Linked DNA regions of Homo sapiens: region 1 is linked to region 2. Evidence: promoter capture Hi-C in human tissues and cell types (Jung and others, 2019). All regions are on one chromosome and are shown on one strand. Each heading gives the region's core, a stretch centred on a gene start or on the middle of the fragment in contact. The rest is flanking DNA. Distances are from core to core; before and after follow the strand shown. Region 1 overlaps LOC105375168 (a long non-coding RNA gene). Region 2 holds the start of LRRC72 (leucine rich repeat containing 72).

The links. The method cuts DNA at HindIII sites, captures the fragments that hold promoters and counts their contacts. A contact is called where the count stands out against the background at its distance.
Region 1: a contact is called between a fragment that was not itself captured here and the fragment with the promoter of LRRC72 in region 2, in 1 of the 25 tissues and cell types used here (hippocampus).

The regions. Positions count from the first base shown.
Region 1 is chr7:16,464,168-16,468,574 of GRCh38, reverse strand. All of the region lies in intron 4 of LOC105375168 (a long non-coding RNA gene), which reads right to left. SOSTDC1 (sclerostin domain containing 1) reads left to right here and starts at 2,837. Exons shown (of 2, transcript NM_015464.3): 1 at 2,837-3,111. The coding sequence starts at 2,907. The HindIII fragment of the contact is 5,680 bases long and covers 1-4,402 here.
Region 2 is chr7:16,524,403-16,528,758 of GRCh38, reverse strand. LRRC72 (leucine rich repeat containing 72) reads right to left here and starts at 1,934. Exons shown (of 9, transcript NM_001195280.2): 1 at 1,717-1,934. The coding sequence starts at 1,806. The HindIII fragment of the contact is 16,941 bases long and covers 1-4,356 here.

The DNA.
Region 1 (4,407 bases), core at 313-2,812, 60 kb after region 2:
AGGAAGAGGATGAGGGAAGAGTGTTATAAGCAAAGGGAATAACAGGTACATACTAATGCCTGAAGATGAGAAAGAATCAATTTCAATATTAAACATCTATATCCATTCTTCTTGGGTTATTACAGTTTGTGGTTATCCTTCACTTGATCTGAGCCAAAAGGCCGAGAAGCAATAGTTTGTGGTTATTTTTAATGGAGCTGTTTTAAACTGATCAGAATAACTGTTAAGTATTAAATTTATGATTATTTCTATTTTAGCAAAGTAGTTTTCTTTCTTTTTATTTATTCATTTATTTTGAGACAGGGTCGCACTCTTGCCCAGGCTAGAGTGTTGCGGTGGTATCATGGCTCACTGCAGCCTCAACACCCCAGGCTCAAGCGTTCTTCCTGCCTCAGCCTCCCGAGTAGCTGGGACTACAGGCATGAATCACCATGCTCAGCTAGTTTTTATTTTACTTTTGCAGAGACAAGGTCTTACTATGTTGTCCAGGCTGATCTCGAATTCCTGCGCTCAAGTGATCCTCCTGTCTTGGCCTCTTAGAGTGCACGATTACAGGCAGAAGCCACTGCACCCAGCCTCAAAATAGTTCTCTAGGGGTCTGTCGGGTAAATTGGGCCTAAGAACTCTGAGTTTGTCCTGTCCACATGCACAACGACATTGCCTTCTCTTCTAATTTTGCTTCTGCCTGAGGTGATATCCTAAGGCTGAGCCTTCAGAATACTAGGTGCAGCAGATTTAATAACTGTGCGTGAATTTGGTCAACCTCATTAGCCCAACCCGATAATTAAATTCCAATTAAAATATCTCCTGCTTCTGACACAGAAAAAGAAAAAGTAGTGAGGAACAGATTAGATTATTTTGACCTTTTAATTTCCTTTAGGCATTGGGTCTGTAGGTCAATGATTAATATTAACATGCTTTGTGTAATTAACATCAAGTCCCCTGATAAGTAGGGCAGGAAATTCTTCATAGTTAGTATTTTAGAAGGATGCCTGTAATCTCCATTTGCACAAAATAAACTGACATATGATTTTCCAGGAAGGATGTTAGAATAAATGACTATCCAATCGTAGGATAGAGATATATTGTTAGTAGGAAGTATACGTCCATTAAACTGATTGTCTGACTCTGGTTTTTAAACTTTTTATTATGTAGAATTTGGAACATACACAAGAATAAACAGAATATAATACTTTACCATCCTACTGTAACAACCATCAACTTATAATTAATCTTTTGCCACTCACACCTCTAACCTCCTCATATTATTTTTGAAGCTTATTCTAGCTTATTCCATATAATGTAAAAGATGATATAAAATCATTTCATCTAAGGATATTCCAGTATATACTTCTAATAGAGAAGCAGTCATTGTTTTAAAACAAAACTACGGTACCATTTCTGTCCTAAAAAAGAACAATAATTTCTTGGTATTATAATATTTTTCCTTTATACTTATTTTTACTTTCTTTTATAGTGAGATAGATGAATAGATAATTAGTGGTTAAATTGGGGGTGATTTTACCCTGTAGGGGTCATTTGGCAATGTTTGGAGTTATTTTTGTTACCAACTAGGGGGGTGCTACTGGCGTCTAGTCGTTAGAAGCCAGGGATGCTGATAAACACACAGGATGGTCCCCCAATAATAAAGAACTGTCTCTTCCAAAATGCCAGTAGCGCTGCTATGGAGAAATTCAGGTAGGCAGACATATAGGCAAATGGCAGTTACAAGGGACAAAAGCTTATACAGAAAAGAGATACAAAATTAGGTGATTTAGGTAACCACACAAAGGACAAAAATGGATTTATAATTGAAAAGATGATTCAGAATAGTTATTCCAATTGAGATGTCCCATGATGAAATAGAATTTTATGATTGTTTTAAAGGGATCATCAGTGGCCTATAATTAATTAATGGAACACGTGTTCTGGGTGCCGGTAAAGTAATTCAGAAAAATAGGTTTCTTACTTGGGCAGCAGAGTCAAAGGAAGTAATGAGCAAAATATTTAGTAAATACGAGTAGAATCTGTGTTCTGAAAAAATCTAGAAAAAATTATTTTGAATCCGCTAAAAAGTCTGTCACAAATGGCTTTATGTAAAACAATGCTATGGATATTAATGCTTGTGACACATTTTTAAGACAAAAATGAGTATTACTTACTTTAATGTAGACAGAACTATGCTCATTATTCTCCACACAAAACCCCTGGCAATAATTTACCTAGCAGCACAGTAGTTCTTGTAGATCAAAGCTGCATTATTTAAGCATGTCCAGGGGGCAGGTTTTAGCTCTGTGCCTTTTACTTTAAGGAAAAAAAAATATTGGTTTGCTTCTTGAGAGAAAGCAATGTTTAGCTAACTAGGTGCTTCATGCAAGTCCTGCAATATTTAAACTCACATGAATTCCTCCTGTTATCTGGGAAGAACTCCCTTTCTGACCCAAATACTCTAAAATCTGAGGAAAGTACAGAACAACTGTGGGAAAGCCAGTCTCTTCAAATGAACAGCGATGTATTTTCGTTTAAATTAAACCCGAATGTTAACTAGATTCAGGAAAGGAAATGGCAGAGGAGAGTCTGTCGTTGATATAGAATACGCCTGCCTGCGTCGGCTCACAGACAAGTGATGAAGTCCAACTCTGAAATTTCAGGCAATTTGTATACCAAGCTCCTCCTTTTCTGCAGTCTTCTTTTCCATTGGTAAAATTCTTTTGCAGGGTCATGTAGGGATCCCACCCCTTCTCTGTGTTTTCACTCTGAAGCTCTACACAACTTTACACCTGAATGAACGCCAAACCTCTATGGATATATAAAGGGAAGCTTGAGGAGGAATTTCACAGTTACAGTGCAGAAGCAGAAGCAAAAGAATTAACCAGCTCTTCAGTCAAGCAAATCCTCTACTCACCATGCTTCCTCCTGCCATTCATTTCTATCTCCTTCCCCTTGCATGCATCCTAATGAAAAGCTGTTTGGCTTTTAAAAATGATGCCACAGAAATCCTTTATTCACATGTGGTTAAACCTGTTCCAGCACACCCCAGCAGCAACAGCACGTTGAATCAAGCCAGAAATGGAGGCAGGCATTTCAGTAACACTGGACTGGATCGGAACAGTAAGTGTGTTTTACTTGTACAGTTTTTTTTTTTCTTTTCTGGTAGCATTAGCTCACATTCCTGTAGAATTGTTTTATTGGTAACTAACCTGAACCGTATATATGTTGTGAAACAATTTGGGAGTAATCTGCTGCATGTGCAGGTTGGCATTCTTCCCTAGGTAGTGATTTTAAAGTTAACCTAACTAAAACAGTGGTTTAATAGTGCAAGCACAGACTGAAGTTTTATCAAACATCCACAAAGAAAACATTTCCAGGAATTAAACTATTGTTTTGTCAAAATCATGCAAAATGACCATTTTAAAAAGTATTGTTTTAGATAGCTCAAGTTCCGGTTGTTTTGTCAATTTATTTCAGGGCATATGCAATTTTGGTAAAGTGTATAAACGTAACTAATATATATTATTAGTTACCATCCACAAATAAATATAGGGAATCACAAGGGAAAAAAGGAAGCTTCCAGGAGAAAAAATTTGTTTACATTGGATTTCTAAAATATGTCTAGTGAGATAGTCAAAAGTTTTGATGATGCTCAATGTAAAAGAGGGATAAACTAAAAATGTTGGAGAATCACATTTTTCTAAAATAATTCCTTGTTGTCCCATTCAAAATTTAGATAATTGTGTATTTCTGTGACAGACTGGGGACATTTTTGTAACTTAAGAGATGTAAAACAACAGCTTAGTTGACACACTAATTGACCACTGGTTAGGGGGATTCAAATTACCCCTAACTTTTGTTTCTATCTTTTCCTTTAGAAGAGGCCATATGCTAATAATCAGGTTTTAAGAGAGAGAGAGAGAGAGAGAGAAACACTGCGCAGGAAATCTTACACAAATCTTTTGCCTCTCCTTCTTCACTCCATTCAACTACGAAAAGTAGTTTTGACTTTTGAAAAGTCAAAGCAAATTTGACTGTTAATGTCTAAGAAAGCTAGGATGTTTTAACTTTCACGAAGCTGGTTGCTTTTAAGTACACAGGACATATCTGATTATTATTAGATTACTGAGCAATGTGGTGGGTATTCGTTGTCAATGAACTGTCACTGCAAAAATGCCAAATCTGTATATACACAGGAACAGAAAGCTTGACGAGACAAAATTATTTCTGGCTATTTCCAGGTGCATTCCTGAGGCAGCTGCAGGAAGGTGAGCTGGAGGCAGAATCAGGCACGCTGAGCACACTGTCCAACCAAACAATTTACGCTTTACATTTTAATCCCACAATTCTAGATTTCTATGCATGCATGTCTATATACATAAGTTTTTCCACAACTATCACGTTCCCCTTAAGCTA
Region 2 (4,356 bases), core at 685-3,184:
ACTAGAAAAAACATGTGACAAAGCCAGGCTTCAGGAAGATGACTCTAGCAGTGATGTGTATGGGGGCCTGGTGTGCAGTGAGAACTGCAGACAGGAAGCAAGACTGCCTCTGGGAAACAAAGTCTGCCAGCTAATGAGCCTGCCCCCTCAGGGTGGGGGCAGGTGTGAGTGAGCAGTGAACAGATATGACATGGGGTGTGTTTAGGGAGAATGAATGGGAACTGGCAAGTAAATGGAGGCAGAGAATTAGCACGAGGGAAGTCACAGGTGATGATGATGATGATGTGATGACTTGATGAGAAAGATGATGGGAGGGAAGACAGATGCAGCTGAGAAATGCTGAAATTGAGGCCCTGGTGGAACAGACTGGTCAAGGCGCCCACCAGAAAGCTGCAAGGGTAAATGTGGAACTCATCAGAGATCTCATCAGGGCAGCTGTGCAGATCTGATAAGTCAGTTAACCAGAGGAGAGTGGGATCCAAGGAAGATCACGATGAAGTGTCTACATGGAGAGAAGGGAGAGGGAAACATGATGGAAAGGAGACAGAGGAGGATGATTGTCAAGTGAGGTAGAAGAAGAAAAGGACAGCAGGAGGCAGAGGAGCATTTGAAGAAGGTAGAATTTCAATCTACAACATTGTTTTGGCTGGTGGAGGATGTCACTCAGAAAAGGTACTGAATTTAGAGGCCTGAATTTCAGTAGCTTGAAGAGGGTGAAAAGTCGGATTTTAAATTAGTTGGTTAACCTAAAAGGAGAATAAAAAGAGTCCATCACAAAATTGGGATGTGAACAGTTCTAGCATGGGGAGAACAGCAGCTGCTTCTTCCACCACCCGATGCCTGAGGATCTAGAATCAAAGGGAAAAAAATGTTTGAAAATGGCAGGATTATTAAATCCTAGAAGAATAAGGTCAGTATTAAAACCTATAGAAGAAAATGCCCTCTCTGATGATAAATTCTTATACCTCCATGCAACACGCAGGCACAAGTTAGGACTTAGTGTGAAGAGCTTTCAATTCATTACAGAACTCTCGGCCTCGTTTAATCACAGCAGCCCCCCATCTTTGCAGATGAGTCAGAGAACTCCAGAAAGCCTTGCTAGGTCTTACCTGGCACAATTCTGAGATTTTTTTTTCCCCACCCAAATATCCAAATATTCTTTTAATCATTATCTTAACTGCTCTCGACTCTGCTTGTAGGGCTCATCAAATAACGTTTTCTCTTCAAGGTGTTGATTTGCCCTTGCTGGGAACAATATATTAGGGATACACACCCACACCCACATCCACACACACACACACACCCCTGTTGGAGAATCAAGACTGCGAAATTTACTTAATCTCCGTTTCACTTAATCTGCAAACCACTATAATTATATACGCAGCAGATGCTGAGTGGTAAAAGGTCAGTGTAAGTCTACTGGTGTGGACTGGGAAGTCCTCAAACCCCACCCAGGGGATTAGGACCTCTAGCCCAGGCAGAGATGCTGAGGGGGGTTCGCCACCGCTCGTAGCTGTTCACATCCCAATTTTGTGCTGGATTCTTTGTTCTCCTTTTATGTTAACCAATTAATTTGAAATCTGACCTATCTCCGTCTTCAGGCTACTGAAATTCCCCTCCAAATTCAGTACCTGCCTGGAGTCCTCAGGCAGGAGGTGGGGCCCTGGGGCAGGGGGCCAAAGGGGCTGATGGCTTGGGAAGGCAGGTGCCGCTTACCCGGCGACTGCTCTGTAGGGCAGTTTCGGATGCCCTCCGTAGGCGCCAGCATCGCAAGGTACGGGGCACGGGGTTCGGGTCCCAGGACATCAGGACACATGGGCGGCCGAAGCAGCGGTGATTAATCCGGCCTCGCCCGCCGGTGGCACCGAAGAGAGACTTGGCTTGGTGCACAGCTCGTTGTTCTGTTACCAACAGTTACCGCATTCCCGTTGACTAAAAGCCAGTCCACACTGGGAAATATTTGAAGCCAAACGCTGACTTTTGTGACGTTTGAGCGTGTGGCCCTGCAACACCCACCCTTGTGCCTCGGACACACGCGTGTTACCCCTGCTCATGGTGATGCGTCCGGTGGATGCCGGAGAGCGGGGGTCAGCTATGTCCGGGACCAGGAGGAGGTCAGAGCGCCTCAACGGCAGTCACCCAGTAATCATCACTTTGATTCGAGATATGAATATCAGGAAATTTAGGTTTCTGGAAATTAGACGTGTGTGTGTGTGGACCCCTGGCCTCATGTACGGGCTGGGGGTGAAGAGGTGCGCTGCAGAGTCGCTGTGGATCTTGACGCAAGAGGAAAAAAGACAGTACTACTGATCGTGTCTCTAAAAGTTTGAAATTTTGTTCATTATGCATGTTATTTGCATACATTTTGTTTTTTTTTTTTTAATATTGCATTAAGATATTTATTTTGAGGTCGGGTGCGGTGGCTCAAGCCTGTAATCCCAGTGTTTTGGGAGGCTGAAGCAGGTGGATCACCCAAGGTCAGGAGTTCTAGACCAGCCTGGCCCACATAGAGAAACCCTGTCTCTATTTTAAAAAAACACAAAAATTAGCCGGGCATGGTGGCATGCGCCTGTAATCCCAGCTATTTGGGAGGCTGAAGCAGGAGAATAGTTTGAACCTGGGAGGCAGAGGTTGCAGTGAGACAAGATCCAGCCATTGCACTCCAGCCTGGGTGACAGAAGGACACGCTGTCTCAAAAACAAACAAAAAAAAATATTTATTTTGAATGCTGAGTTTTTGGTGCTTCTTACATCTGGGTCCAAGGCCACTGCCTTACTTGCCTCATCATAGACCCACACCTGGGATGAAGGTGGGGGTGGTAGAATTAAGGCTCCTCAAGAGTCCAGGTGCACAGAAAAATGGAAGGAACTCTCTACTGACTTCATTGGCTAAGAACAAGTACATATTGTTTCAGTAGCTGAGAAATCCTTTCTCTGGCAGAAAATGGACAAATTGAGCCACTATTTGGCCAATCTTTCCAACCTTGTTTTTTGTTTTTGTTTTTTGAAATTTCTGTCTCCTGTAACTGTATTGGAACCTCTAGTATAGATTATCTTGTGACTTTATTTATATGAGGCTTGTTCCCTCTAGCTTGGGTAACTTTGGAGGCAGGATCCTGTTTAAGACATCTCTCTCTTCTGCCAGAGCTTAACGGACTGCGCTTAATTAATGTTGACTGGATTAAACGAGTTGGTTTCTTGGCTCCAAATTTGAACCTGAAATCTAGGAATCAAATGTAGCTTTCTGAAATGGGTCAAGCTACTTGCATTTAAAAAAAAATGCTGGTGTTGAAATGAAGCATTAAAAAATGTCTCAGTGGGGAAATCAAGTACACATTGTTTCAGTAGTTCTAATATGTATTTGGGGCTGAGGTGGGGGTAAAAGCTCTCCAAGTTATTGTGGAGGGATTAATCATCTAAGAACTATTGTTTAAGTAGTTTCTATCCTGGAAATAAAACTCAAATGAGAGAAATGGTCCACTGAGAAGGCATATATAATAATTCATTGGCTCATTTTTGCTGTTGATATGTGTTATAGCATTGCAGATATTATTCACGAATATGCTACATGAAAAAATGGAAATGCACAATACTTGTTCAGTTTTCTACATTACACAAATGTGACTTTATAACCATATGCAAAATAGTTTTAAAGAGCATCTTGCAGATGTAAACTAGTCACCAGTTAATTTCTACTAAAATCACATTAAAAATTTTTATTCTTATTTTTTTAGCATTTTACCCCATATTAAAAAGGTAATTTTGAAAAAAACCTTATTCTTAGGAAAGGAACTCAAAACTCACTTATTATAAGGTCTTAATGTGTTCCTTCTTCAAGAAAAAATTAACTGATCACGAAGGCTAAAATAAAGCAAATTTAATTATGGAATCTCAAGGATGGAGGTTAATGAAGGCACTTTTTGGACAAAAGCTCCTTCCCAGACATTCTCACATTGGTGACATGAAATTTTTACAAAAGAATTACTCCCAGTAGAGTGAGCAGAGAGAACTTTTACCTCCATGGGGTAAGATTATAGCCTGAGGAATCCAGCCTGAAATTTTTAAAATTCATGTAAAATATGCATTCTTCTTTACAATCAATCTTGTTTTAATATAAAAATAAAGCAGTTCCCCAAACTCTCCTCAAATCTTTGTGTAATATTTACATTGAAGCAAGACACCCTGTGTTTATCCTGTGGCTTTACCTCCCTGGCTTGCTGCCATTGCCCGCAGGGGTATGCATATCCCAGTTTGAAAGCTCTATCATATCATGTACATGGATTTGGATAAGAAGAAAGAACCCTCTGCTCCAAGTCAGGGCATGTGGGATTTAGTCTCAGCTCTGACATCAACTAGT